Linked DNA regions of Homo sapiens: region 1 is linked to region 2. The links are contacts of gene promoters, found by promoter capture Hi-C in human tissues and cell types (Jung and others, 2019). All regions are on one chromosome and are shown on one strand. Each heading gives the region's core, a stretch centred on a gene start or on the middle of the fragment in contact. The rest is flanking DNA. Distances are from core to core; before and after follow the strand shown. Region 1 holds the start of DOCK6 (dedicator of cytokinesis 6). Region 2 holds the start of ELAVL3 (ELAV like RNA binding protein 3).

Region 1 (6,603 bases), core at 3,236-5,735, 220 kb before region 2:
ACTCAGAAGGAAACACATGGCCAAGAATGTTGACACCTCTGATCATGACAGCTCCAAAGTGAAACTCACATGTTCACTGACCAAAGAGGGAAATAAATGCATGAGGCAGGGGAATACTACCCAGCAATGAAAAAGGATTGCAGGCAATGGCCCAGCTGAGCCTTCCTGACATGATGCTGAGTGAACAAAGTTGGGCACATGGATGCAACACCTCATGATTCAGTTTATATGACAATCTAAAACAGGCCAGATCAGGTAGGGGTGCTGGCATGCGGGAGGGAGCCAGGAAGGTGGAGATAGTCCCCATGGGAAATTGACCAAGTGGCCATTTCCTCATTTCCTTGCCCTTTGCTTTCAAATTATTCTTTAAACTTCGCACTTTTCTTTCTCTCTCTCTCTCTTTTTTTTTTTTCCTTGAGATGGAGTCTCTGTCGTCCAGGCTGGAGTGCAGTGGTGAAATCTCAGCTCACTGCAACCTCCACGGCCCGGGTTCAAGCGATTCTCCTGCCTCAGCCTCCTGAGTAGCTGGGATTACAGGCACCCACCACCATGCCCAGCTAATTTTTGTATTTTTAGTAGAGATGGGGTTTCACCATGTTGGCCAAGCTGGCCTCGAACTCCTGACCTCAGGTGATCCGCCCACCTCAGCCTCCCAAAGTGCTGGGATTACAAGCATGAGCCAACGCGCCCGGCCTATAACTATTCTTTAAACTTTTCTTTCTCTCTCTTTTTTTTTTCTTGAGACGGAGTCTCTGTCACCCAGGCTGGAGTGCAGTGGCGTGATCTCAGCTCACTGCAACCTCCACGTCCCGGGTTCAAGTGATTCTCCTGCCTCAGCTTCCCCAGTAATTGGGATTACAGGCACTCGCCACCATGCCTGGCTAATTTTTATATTTTTCGTAGAGATGGGGTTTCACCATCTACAGACCCGAACTCCTGACCTCAGGTGATCCACCTGCCTCAGCCTCCCAAAGTGCTCGGATTATAGGCATGAGCCACCATACCCAGGCTACTTTCTTTTTCTTTCTTTTGAGACAGGGTCTCACTCTGTCACTCAGGCTGGAGTGCAGTGGCGCAATCACGGCTCACTGCAGCCTCAACCTCCTGGGCTCCAGCAATCCTCTCATCTCAGCCTCCCCAGGAGCTGGGACTACAGGTATGAGCCACCATCACACCTGGGTAATTTTGTTTCTTGCAGAGACAGGGTCTCGCTATGTTGCCCAGGCTGGTCTTGAACTCCTGGCCTCCCAAAGTGGTAGGATTACAGGTGTGAGCCATCATACCTGGCCCAAAATTTGTAGTTTTTGGTATGAATGTTGTATGTTACAGTTGTTTAAATGGTAAAAAATAACAATATATGTATGTGCTTGTGTTTGCCAATATATTCAAGGATGGGGGAGAGAGAGAGAGAGAGAGAGATGTTTACCTGAAATTTCAGTGGTAACTTTGGGATTTTGAAATTTGTCAATAAATACCTCATTTTCTTCCCACCCCTCCAATGAATCATTATTTCTTTTCTTTTTTTTTTTTTTTTTTTGAGATGGAGTCTCGCTCTGTCGCTCAGGCTGGAGTGCAGTGGCGGGATCTCGGCTCACTGCAACCTCTACCTCCCAGGTTCAAGCAATTCTCCTGCCTAAGCCTCCCGAGTAGCTGGGATTACAGGCGTGCGTCACCACGCTTTTGTAAATTTGTAAAGTTACAAAAAGCTAACTTTTTGTATTTTTAGTAGAGACGGAGTTTCACCATGTTGGCCAGGCTGGTCTCGAACTCCTGACCTCAGGTGATCCACCTGCCTCGGCCTCCCAAAGTCTGGGATTACAGACCTGGGCCGCCGCGCCCGGCCTTTTTTTTTTTTTTTTTTTTGAGACAGAGTCTTACTCTGTCACCCAGGCTGGAGTGCAGTGGCACGATCTCTGCTCACTGCAACCTCCACCTCCTGGGTTCAAGTGATCCTCCTGCCTCAGCCTCTGGAGTAGCTGGAAGATTGTCTAATATTCGGGTTAATCTGGTATTTGTGGAATAAATGACTGAATGGATGAACAGATGAATATAGGACCAGCTCTGAGTATGTAGACACCTGGGTGCCCAAGAGCGAAGTTGCTCTGGAAGCCCTGGGCCACTCCCTCACAGTTCACTAGGGCCCCAGGATCATTCTCTACTCTTACCCTGAGCTCTACAGTATCCAAAACCCCTCTTTCTCACTTGAGTAAAAACCAGGACCCAAGGACATACAGACCAAAATGCAAAGAAACAGACAGCAAGCTGGGCGCAATGGCTCACGCCTGTAATCCCAGCATTTGGGAGGCCGAGGCAGGAGGATCACTTGAGCCCAGGAGTTTGAGGCCAGCCTGGGCAAGATAGTGAGATCCCGTTTCTACAAAAGGTTAAAAAGTTAGCTGAGTGTTGCAGCATACACCTGTAGTCCCAGCTACTTGGGAGGCTGAGGCAGGAGGATCACTTGAGCCCGGGAGATTGAGACTGCAGTGAGCCAAGGTATCACCACTGCACTCCAGTCTGGGTGACAGAGCAAGACCCTGTCTCAAAAAAAGAAAAGGAAAAAAAAAAAAAGCCTGGGTGCAGTGGCTCACACCTGTAATCCCAGCACTTTGGGAGGTGGGCGGATCACCTGAGGTCAGGAGTTCGTGACCAGCCTGGTCAACATGGTGAAACCCCCTCTCTACTAAAAATACAAAAATTAGCTGGGTGTGGTAGTGGGCGCCTGTAACCCCAGCTACTCAGGAGGCTGAGGCACAAGAATCGCTTGAACCCAGGAGGCGAAGGTTGCAGTGAGCCAAGATTGTGCCATTGCACTCCAGTTTGGGTGACAGAGCGAGACTCTGTCTCAAAAAAAAAAAAAGAAAGAAAGAAAGAAAAGAAAAAGAAAAGGAAAGAAAAAGAAACAGACAGCAATAATGTTTGCAGCCTCAAAGACGCCAAAGGTCTAAGACATTTTGAAAGCCAATTTACAGACAAAGATAATGATAGAACATAAAAATTGCCCAGCCATTACGCCCCAGCCACCAAGTCTCATCCCTCCTCTGCTGAGAACTCCCCATGGCTCCCACCTCACCTGGGGTCCAAAGTCAAAGTCCCTTGCACAGCCCACACGACCCTGTACATTCTACTCTTACTGTCCCCCTCCAGCTCTCTGTTCCTGCCTCAGGGCCTTTGCACAAACCCTTCCCACTCTTTCCCCCCACAAACTGGCCTCGATCGATCCCTCTCTCATCTCCTTGAGGTTTTTGCTCAAAGGCACCTGCTCATCCAGGCCTTCCTGACCCACCTCCCGCATCTCAAGCAGCCCCCACCCTCCCATCCCCCTTCCCTGTCTTCTTGTCCCTACAGCACTTGTCACTGACAGGTAATCTACTCGATCAGGCTTCTGGTCTCTCTCCGCCACTATATCCCAAGAGGGGGATCTTTTGTCTCCATAAGACCAGGGCCCAACCCACAGGGCAGCTCTTTCACCTGGGGGCAGTCAGGACAGGTCCCCCGGGGAGAGGATACCTGAGCTTCTGAACGCACCCTTGTCGCAAAGACCCCCCGCCAACTGGGGGCGAGGCTTTTCAGCCCCAGAGAGTCTGATATACCCCTCCCAGGCTGTGACTCTCACAATCCCCAGTGGCCACGGAAATGGATCCCCCAGCGCCTGGGGCCTGTCCCCTCCCCCGTCTGCCCACCAGCTGGTTCTGTCCCCAGCCCCCACTCCCTCCATTCAATCACCCATCCATCCCCAGCGCGGTCCAGCCCGTGACGGGAGAGCCTGAAGCAGAAGGTGGGGGGGCGTCCACAGCTGTCCCCCTTCCCCCCCCCCGACAGCTGGGCACTGGACCCTGGAGGGGGAAGGGCACGGGAAACTCCTCGAGGGGTTTCAAACGCCACCAAGGAGCCCATCTCTGTCCCCAAATCTCAGAGCCTGGAGCCTCCCTGCCCCAAACCAGGCACTGAGGAAGGAACAGAAAGTCCGGCCCACCCCGATCTCCGAGAGCGCGGGGACAGTGAGGGGCCGAGAGGCGGACGGGGAGCGCAGGGAGTTCAGGGGGCGCCCGTCATCCGCATCCCCACGCCACCTCCTCCGGGAAGCCCTCCGGACACACCCCCGCGCGTCACGGAGGCAGAACGGCAGCCGCCATCGCGCTCCCAGCCCCGACGCGACTCCCATCTGGGACCCCCGCCGGGACCCCCGCGGCCCTCCCCGCCTTCTCCCGCTCCCAGCCCCGGCCGGAGGAAGCTGGCGGGACCCGGGCCGAGGCGGAAAGGGGTTGAATTGGGGGCGCCCGGGCGGGGAGGGTCGCACCGCCCCGGGGCGGAGCCGGGCCACGTGGGGGAGGTGGGAGGGGGCCCCGCGGCCACACTACCTGTTGATCTTGTGCGCGAAGGCGCGGCGCTCGGAGGCAGCCATGGTCCTCGCGTCCCGCCGCCGCCGCCCCGGGCCCCGGCCCCGCCGCCGCCGCCGCCTCCCGGTTCTGGGCAGCCGGGGCGGGGCGGGGCCGGCGCGGGGGCGGGGCCCTTCCGGGTGGCCCGGGCCGCTCCGTGCTGCCCCTGCAGGCCGGAGGGGTCGCCTGGAGTCCTGGGGGCTGGGGAAACTGAGGCTGGGGACGGAGAGGAGGCCCCGGGATCCAGGCTGGGCGGGCCCCAGACTCCCGGGCTGGGGGGACGCTCTTTCTACCCTAGGAGAAGGGCTGGGGAAACTGAGGCTGAGGAGGGAAGTTAGGGAGAGGAGGCGCTGGGACCCAGACTGGGGGTGCCCCAGACTCCCGAGCTGGCGGGGGCGCTCTTTCCACCCTGGGAGCTGGGCTGGAGAAACTGAGCCTGAGGAGGGAGGGAGGGAAGGGAGGCGCTGAGACCCGGGCTAGGTGGACCCCAGGCTCCCGGGGTTTAGTGGGGTGGTCTTACCACCCCAGGAGCAGGGCTGGGGAAACTGAAGCTCAGGAGGGAGGGAGGGAGGGGAGGCGCTGGGACCCAGGCTGGGTAGGCCCCAGATTTCCGGGGTTTGGGGGGCGCTCTTTCTGCCCTCTGACTCCTGGCTGGAAAACAATAACGATGTTCATGTATCTAATAATCATACCTGTAAGTATAATCGTGGCCGTGCATGGTGGCTCATGCCTGTAATCCCAGCACTGTGGGGGGCCAAGGCAGGAGGATTGTTTGAGCCCAGGAGTTGGAGACCAGCCTGGGCAACATAATGAGACCCCGTGTCCACAAAAAATGCAAAAATTAACCAGGCATGGTGGTGTGTGCCTGTAATCTCAGCTACTTGGGAGTCTGAGGGAGGAGGATCGCTTGAGCCTGGGAGGTCAAGGCTGCAGTGAGCTGTGATTGTGCCATTTCAATCCAGCCTGGGTGACAGAGCGAGACCCTGTCTCAAAAAGTCTAATTGCTAAGATGTCATTGAGCCTGGCCCTGCAATTCACACATGCAGAAGAAATTATTGTTTTCCTCCTTTTACAGATGAGTAAACTGAGGCACAGAGGTGTTCGGGTGCTTGCTCAGTGTGACTCACAGGGGTCTCCAGCGCCTGCATTGTCCGTGCTCCCAGTCTACAGCATGGGAGTCAGAGGAGCCTGGCTAGGCACTGGAGTGCTCGGAGATGTGCCCCAGGTCCAGGTGGTGGGACCTGAGTGAGCCAGTTTGGGAGTCTAGACTTTCGGGGCCGCCTCTACCAAGAGGAAGAGGTGGGGATGTCTTGGTTAATCTATGGTCTCAAATCTCTCCCCACTGGCCTCTCTCCCAGCACTGCTGCAGCATTTTTAGAGAATTCTCCAGCCGACACTCCCCTCTGGAGGAGCTCACCCCTTTCTCACCTGCATGCCTCTGCACCGGCAGGTCCTTCCTCCTGGACAGCCCTTCTTTCCCTGGTCAGCAAATGCCCCAGGGAGAATTTGAGGTTGAATCAGACAAGGCCGTGGCTCTGCCTCAGGGCCTTTGCACGTGCTGTTCTCATTCCCATCTATGGGTTGCTGGCATTTTATCCTCTATTATTTATTTATTTATTTATTTATTTATTTATTTATTTATTTATTTATTTTGAGGTGGCATTTCGCTCTTGTTGCCCAGACTGGAGTGCAATGGCACAATCTCGGCTCACCGCAACCTCTGCCTCCCAGGTTCAAGCGATTCTCCTGCCTCAGCCTCCCGAGTAGCTGGGATTACAGGCACCCACCATCACACCTGGCTAATTTTTTGTATTTTTAGTAGAGACGGGGTTTCACCATGTTGGCCAGGCTGGTCTGGAGCTCCTGACCTCAGGTGATCCACCCGCCTCGGCCTCCCAAAGTGCCGGGATTACAGGAATGAGCCACATGCCCACCCTGAGTCACCATGCACCCCCGAGACACAGTTTCTTGCCTTGCTGCCCAATGAATCCATGTCAGACCTTGAACCCACAGGAAAGAGGCCTGGATTGTAGGGGAACCCCCAAACCCTGCCAGTCAGACGCAGGATAGCATCCTGCTAGTCAGGCCGCAGTAGGGCTGCTCACAGCCTGGCATGTGACATGTGCACACAGCCCACGTGCCTGCCCGGAGTGGTCCAGCCACTTTGGCCAGGTGGAGCTCCGCCCATCACTCCCCGCCATGCCCCACCAAGTGTCCCCGCCTTGCC
Region 2 (7,147 bases), core at 4,618-7,117:
GGCACTGTGGGAAATACTTTGAGGCATATTTTCAGTTACTCTCCCAACAATCTTAAAAGACTGAGAACACATTCTCCATTTTACAGGTGACAAAAGTGAATTCAGAGACGTATGAATAGGGAAATTCATTTCAGTCCTGGATCTGTTTGCAGAGCTGTTTTTCATCATTATGGCCAATGCCTTGTCTCGCTATGTTGCCCAGGCTGACCCTGAACTCTCAGGCTCAAGTGATTCTCTCACCTCAGCCTCCCCAGTAGCTAGGACTACAAGTGCAATTCATCATGCCCAGCTAATTTTTTATTTTTTGTAGAGATGGGATCTTGCTATGTTGCCCAGGCTGTTCTCAAACTCCTGGTCTCAAGGGATCCTCCTGCCTCTGCCTTCCAAAGTGTTGGGAGTACAGGCATGAGTCACTGCACCTGGTCACCATCTACTTTTTTTTTTTTTTTTTTTGAGACAGAGTCTTGCTGTGTCACCCAGGCTGCAGTGTAGTGGCACGATCTTGGCTCACTGCAACCTCCACCTCCCAAGTTCAAGCAATTCTCCTGCCTCAGCCTCCGAAGTAGCTGGGACCACAGGCGCGCACCACCATGCACAGTGAATTTTTTGTATTTTTAGTAGAGACACCGTTTTGCCATGTTAGCCAGGCTGATCTCCAACTCCTGACCTCAGATGACCTGCCTGCCTTGGCCTCCCAAAGTGCTGGTATTACAGGCATAAGCCACCACGCCTGGCCCATTTACTCTTGTAAAACAGATGGCACAGAAGGTCAGCTCCCCTGCATCTCCAATTGGCTGAGTTGCTCCTGGGAGGGCTGCCTGGAGGACTACTCTGAAGACACATCCGGCCTCAAAAGGAATATGCATTGGGTTGATTAGCAATGTCTGCAAGGCACCCGCAGTGATGCAGTAACATGCACTGCACAGCTCTGCATTCCCGTCTCCTAACATTAATACTTAACTGATCGCGTAACCATGTATTGAGGTGCCTGTTGTGTGCCAGGAAAAATTCCTCATGTGAAACTTCCAGGTGGTTCTCCTGCCGTTGAACATGATGAGATTCCTTTCTCCATTTAATACACGAGGAAAGAGAGTCTCAATGAAGGGACAGGGTGACTGGGGAGGCTGAGACAGGAAGATCATTTAAGCCTAGGAGTTTGAGAGCAGCCTGGGCAACACAGTGAGATCTTGTTTCCACCAAAAAATTTCCAAAAAAATTAGCTGAGTGTGGTGGTGCATGCCTGTAGTCCCAGCTACTTGGGAGGCTGAGGTGAGAGGATCAACTTGAGCCCAGAAGTTTGAGGATGCAGGGAGCGTGATCATGCCACTACACTCCAGCCTAGGCGAGAGGGTGAGACCCTGACTCTTAAGGGAAAAAAAAAAAAATGAAGGAATAGGAACAGAGTTGCATAGGCGGCAAATGGTGAAACAAGAATTCAGGCTGGGCTTGGTGGCTCAGGCCTGCAATCCCAATACTTTGGGAGGCCTAGGCGGGAGGATCACCTGAGGTCAGGAGTTCGAGACCAGCCTGGCCAACACAGCGAACTCTCATCTCTACTAAAAATACAAAAATTAGCCAGGCATGGTGGTGGGCACCTGTAATCTCAACTACTCGAGAGGCTGAGGCAGGAGAATCACTTGAACCTGGGAGGCGGAGCTTGCAGTGAGCCGAGATTTCACCACTGCACTCTAGCCTGGGCGACAGAGAAAGACTCTGTCTCAAAAATTAGAAAAATAAAATAAAAAATAAAAAAAAAAGAATTCAGTTCCAGGGTTTGGACTTTAGAGCCCACTCCCCTAACGAAAAGACCAGTAATATAATAACAAAATAATAACAGCAAAGCGAAGCTGAGTACCTGCTCTCTGCCGTGCCCTGGGCATCATGACATTTAAACCCACTCCATCGGTTGAGTCTATTAATTCAATTCAACAAATATTTACTGAGGGCTACACATGTCAGACTCCACCCTCCTCATGCTGTCCTCTGATAGTTAGGTCACCTCTCTATGCCTTTCTGTTCTTCCTTAAGGAAGGTATGGCACAGAGGTCTCACATGTATGGAGCTGGATTCTGAATTTGCATCCTGGTTCATTAAGAGTTTTGTGGGGTTTTTCTTTTCCTTGTTTATTTTTGAGACAGGGTCTTGCTCTGTTGCCCAGTCTAGAGTGTAGTGGTACGATCATGGCTCACTGAAGCCTTAACCTCCTTCTGCCTCAACCTCCCAAGTAGCTGGGACTATAGGCTTGCACCACCCAGCCGGCTAATTTTTCTCTTTTTCTGTAGAGATGAGGTTTTGCCATGTTGCCCAGGCTGCGATCCTCCTGCCTTAGCCTCCCAAAGTGCTGAGATTACAGGTGTGAGCTCCACCATGACTGGCCCTGGAGATGGATTCTGAATTTGCATTTAAGCTCATTGAGGTAAGAGTTCTATGTTGAGTTGCTGATATTTGCTATAAGAGCCCAGTGAGCAGTTGGCAGTACACAAGCCACTGCTTCTGGACATGCTAGATCCCTATTTTTTTTTTTTTTTTTTTGAGATGGAGTCTTGCTCTCTTGCCCAGCCTGGAGTGCAATGGCATGATCTTGGCTCAGTGAAACCTCTGCCTCCCGGGTTCAGGCAATTCTTCCACCTCAGCCAGGTAGCTGGGACCACAGGTGTGCACCATCGCGCCCCGCTAACTTTTTATATTTGTAGTAGAGACGGTGTTTCACCATATTGGCCAGGCTGGTCTCGAACTCCTGACCTCATGTGATCCACCCACCTTGGGCTCCCAAAGTGCTGAGATTACAGGCATGAGCCACCGTGCTAGATCCTATTTTTGAACTCCACTGAGCATGTGCAAAGTTTTCATTGACCTCCCACAACCACAGTGAATGGTATGAAGGGTCTCCTCCATTTCTCAGATGGGGACACTGAGGGTTAGTCACAGGGACCTATGACTTGTCCAGGGTGACAGGAGGAGGTGGAGGGGATGGTGTCAACATCTGACTCCTGATCCGATGACCCTAGAGCCGAAAGAGTTACTGGCTGCCCCCCTCCCATGGTGTCCCCAACCTGAGCAGAGTGAAGAGGTGACTGGGTGGTTCAGACCCAGGTTCTTGAGGCCTAGCCTGCTAATCTGGCCACCACCCGTTCTCCCTCCCATTTGTGCCAGAGCTTAGCGGGACCAGTATCTCGTTTCCTCTGTGGCTGAGCCGGCTGAGCTGATAATGGGGATCAGATTGATGGAAGCCACACCCGCCCTGCCCCAGCCTGCAGTAAGTGCACAGCCTGGGATGGTGGCTACATGGGCATCAAAGGGACTTCGGCGACTGGCCCCAGACAGAGATGGGGGGGTGGCAAAGTCAGGGAGGAGGAGGGCAGATAAAAGATGGAGGGTTAGGGAAGCTTCCCATTCTCTCCAGTGCTTCTTCTAAGTCTCCCCCGACTTTTGGTTTCTCTCTCCCTCTTTCTTCCTCTGTTTCCCTCTCTTCTCCACTGTCCTGCCCTCTCTCTGAACCGTTCTGTGTCCCTGGCCTCATCACTCTCTCTTCCTCTTTTCCACCATCGCACATACATCTGACGTATGGGTTTTGCAGTGAACACACCTGAGGCCACTTTTTTCTTAAAACCTCCTGTGTCTGACCCCCACGGCCCCCAGCTGCGGCCCCTGGCCCCAGTCACAGTGACAGATGCCTGGATACCGGCGACAATAGGGCATTGAGTGGCTATGCATGGTGAGGCTGGGCTACCACGTGGTGCTGACTGAGCCTCCTACTTCTGGGCCCTTCTTCAATGCAGGGTCCTCCTGGTCTTAATTTGTCACCTCTCTTCCTCCCAGCCTGTCCCCATGATACATCTCTGCCCCAGGGCTCGCTCACTGGAGAACCTAGGTCCTCAAGGCCCTTGTGTGACCTCTGACCACACCCTCTTTCCCTTTGTGCATTAGTTTCCTTTTTCAAATGAGAGAACCGATCAGAGGACGCTTAGGAGATGCTGGACTGTTGCGGGAGTTCTGAGGTCCTCAGGAGGCCACACTCCAGTTCCCAGACCTGGGTGAACAGCACGAGGCCCAGAGAGGGAAAGGAACGGCCTGAGGTCACACAGCAGGTGAGCCAGGCCTCCGGGACCTCATTTCTCAGAGCCAGGTGGGCGGGTCCCAGGGTCCAGGAGGGGAGAGGCTTAGGCATGGAGGGAGCGCCAATCATGCCCCCACCCCCAGTGCTAGCCACGACTCGAAAAAGGGGCCCGGAAAGAGACACAATGCACAGAGACACACACGCAGAGACGGAGAGATAGGAAGAGTGGAAGAGGGAGGCCCAGGCGCCGGGACCAGACAAAGGACGCGCGGCGGCGCGGGGAGCGGAGTCGCGCGGCAGGGGCGGGGGTGGAGCCGGGGTGGGGCTATAACTGGCCAGCCCCGCCCCCGGGATACGCCCGGGCTGCCGAGTGGGAATCCGAGGGCTCGGGCGAGGCCGGGCCCCCGGGGCCCTGGGGGCGGGGCCTAGATGGGCGTGCCCGGGCGTGGCCAGGCAGGGCGTGGCAGGGCGGGAGGGGCTGCGCGCTCGGGAGCTGACCAGCTCCGTGGCTGCTGAAAGCACCGAGCGCGGGGCTAGCGGTGCGGGCGAGCAGGCGGGCGGGCCGCGCTCAAGGTCACCTCGCGGCCCAGAGCCTTGGCGAGGTGGGGAGCCTGGACCTGGCCTAAGGGGGCTGTCTCGGCCTCCCACCCCATCTCCCGGGGGGCGGAGACCCGGGAGCCCAGAGGTGCCCCCCCAACCCGCGGGCCCTCCTCTCCCCTCCCCCTCCCCGCAGCCCGAGGCGCCCGCGCGAGGCTGCGGCCCGCGAAGAAGCGCCGAGAAACAAAGGGACGCGGCAGCAGCGGCGGCGGGCCCGCGGGGCCTCCGGGCGCGCCCCCTCCTCTCCCCTCCCCGCTTGCCGCAAGGTCGACGGGCTCGAGGACGAGACGCCCGCCTCCCGGGTGCGGCCGAGGCCCGGGGCGCGCGATCCGACGCCACCCGCTTTCCCAGGGCTCTCGGGGACGCTTTGTCGCTTTGGCTTGGCCCAGCACCAGTGATCGGGCCCTGCGTTTGCCTGGGCGGCCTGCGGGGTCTGGGCCTGGATGGAGGAAGCATCCTTAGCCGCCGCGGCCCCTCCCCCATCAGGCCTGCTGGAGAGGGGGCAATCCCGCCTCCAGGGCGGCGTCGGACGCCTCCCGAATCGCAGTCAGTCTCCCTAAGGCCCTCTCAGACCAAGCTCTAAGCGCCCTCAGCACTCTGGGCGCGGCCCTGCCCACTCTCAGGCCCCGAGGCTTGGTCCTACCCCCCCAACCCGGGCCTAGCTAGGCCTGGTCCTACCCCCCCCGCCGCACCCGCCCAATCTCCGCGGAGCCTGGGCCCAACTCCTCCCCGTCCCGATTCCCTTTCGGCGACAGGGGAATACCTACAGTGACCATTCTTGTGTGCCCGGCGGGCGCGGTCCGTGTTGAGGGGGGCTCCGGGGGTGGTGCACTCCTAGGGGGGCGCCCGATGCTCACGCTGGGGTCCCGCCCGGGCGGCCTCTGGTGCGGCCGCTGCAGATGTGGCGATGAAGGCGGCGGCTCCCTCGAGGGCCAGGGACGGGCCCGAACCCGGGGATGCGCGCGCGGATGGCCGGGCCCCGGGGTGGCCTGCGGGCGGCAGGGGATGGAAAGAGGGAGCGGGCGCGGGGTTGAGGACGCCCCCTGCGCGGCCCCGCGGGGCCCGGGGAGGTTGCGCTTCCCGACAGAGATCGCGGCGCTCTGCCTTTCGCCGCCGCCCCTCGGTCGGTCCTGTCCGGTCCCGTGTGTTCAAGTCCTCTCCCCTCGCCCACCCTCCCTCCCTCCCTCCGGCCCGCGCTGCGCGCTCCGCGCTCTGGACCGCGCCGCCGCCGCCCCCAGCCCTTTATAGCAGCAGCTGCCAGCGCCGGCGTCGCTCATTGGCTGCGGCGACCGAGCTCCGCCTCCTCGCGGCTCCCGACGGCGCGGCAGGTGGAAGTGAGCGCGCACTGGTCGGGACTCTGAATCCCCCAAAAGCGCATCCTAGGTGCTCGGGTTGCCAGATTTGGGCCCTCCTTCCCTCGAGGCCCTTGCTTCCTACCCTGGCACCCCTTCTTGGGCTGGCTTTCGGGCCAGGAGACGGGCTCCCCTCCTCCGTCCAGCTCCTAGAGCTGGAGGAGCCAACAGAGCGAGGAGGTATTAGTGGCCTGAATATGCGACCTTCCAGAGGTGTTGTCCACTGAGGGAACTGGACAGGGGATCAGGAACCAATATTTTAGTAGGCAGAGGCCTGGGTCCCCAGATTTGGAGGCACCAGTGTAGACCACCTCAAGACCACGGGGGAGGGTGGCTACTGTGGCCCTAGTCTTCTGCAGAAGGAGACTGGGACGCTGTTGGTTTTGAGTGAGCTGGATCCTTCTAGGGTTCAAAAGGTAAGGACTGGCACTCCCCAGTGCAAGGAAACTCCGCACTGCTCCGAAGGGGGTGAAAAGGTTTGGGGCTCAGTGTTCTGGACAATCATCGCTGGAGCCATGCAGCTCTGGGAAACCACGGATCCTTCTTGGACCCCACAGAACTGGGGTGGGTGGATCTGCCACATAAATGTCCTGGCTTTCTAGGCTCGTGATTGGTCCTCCTGACTGTGGAGTCATGCTCGCTCTCTGCTAGGGGGAACCTGGCCTCTCTCTAAGGCGTTGGGGGTGGCGCAGCCTCCTTTGGTGCGCGGGCGCCGGTGCATGTTTACGTCGGGGCGCGGGAACTAGCACACACTGGGGCGGGGTCGCCAGGGCGTGAGGCTTCAGCACCACAGACAGCAATCCGACAGTCCGGTCGAGGGCGCTGCCGGCGAGGTAGCCCAGACCCCCTAACTGGAGAGCGGCAGTCCCCACCCAATCCTCGTTCCTGCACGCCCTTTAGGCTCCAGACTGTCAGAGAGCGCCACCAGCGAGGAGAGCCTAATTTGCCCAATCAGGGGCGGCCCTTGAGATAACCAGTTACTGGAAGATGCCCTAGAGATCGAGCCAATGGGAGTGCGCGCACCAGGGGATGCTGCCACGCCTGGAAAGGGCAGGCCAATCGCAGTGGCCCGCGCAATAGGGGCGGTGGCGGTGCAGATCCCCGGGTGGCCCCTCTTGGGCTCGCCGGGGCGACCTGGCTG

What was found. The method cuts DNA at HindIII sites, captures the fragments that hold promoters and counts their contacts. A contact is called where the count stands out against the background at its distance.
Region 1: a contact is called between the fragment with the promoter of DOCK6 here and the fragment with the promoter of ELAVL3 in region 2, in 14 of the 25 tissues and cell types used here (IMR-90 fibroblasts, bladder, dorsolateral prefrontal cortex and 11 more).

What each region holds. Positions count from the first base shown.
Region 1 is chr19:11,258,039-11,264,641 of GRCh38, forward strand. It overlaps DOCK6 (dedicator of cytokinesis 6), which reads right to left and starts at 4,486. Exons shown (of 48, transcript NM_020812.4): 1 at 4,359-4,486. The coding sequence starts at 4,402. RefSeq lists silencers at 4,061-4,200, 4,281-4,340, 4,411-4,570. The HindIII fragment of the contact is 27,433 bases long and covers 1-6,603 here.
Region 2 is chr19:11,475,179-11,482,325 of GRCh38, forward strand. ELAVL3 (ELAV like RNA binding protein 3) reads right to left here and starts at 5,868. Exons shown (of 7, transcript NM_001420.4): 1 at 5,422-5,868. The coding sequence starts at 5,430. RefSeq lists silencers at 4,386-4,580, 6,955-7,147. The HindIII fragment of the contact is 31,814 bases long and covers 1-7,147 here.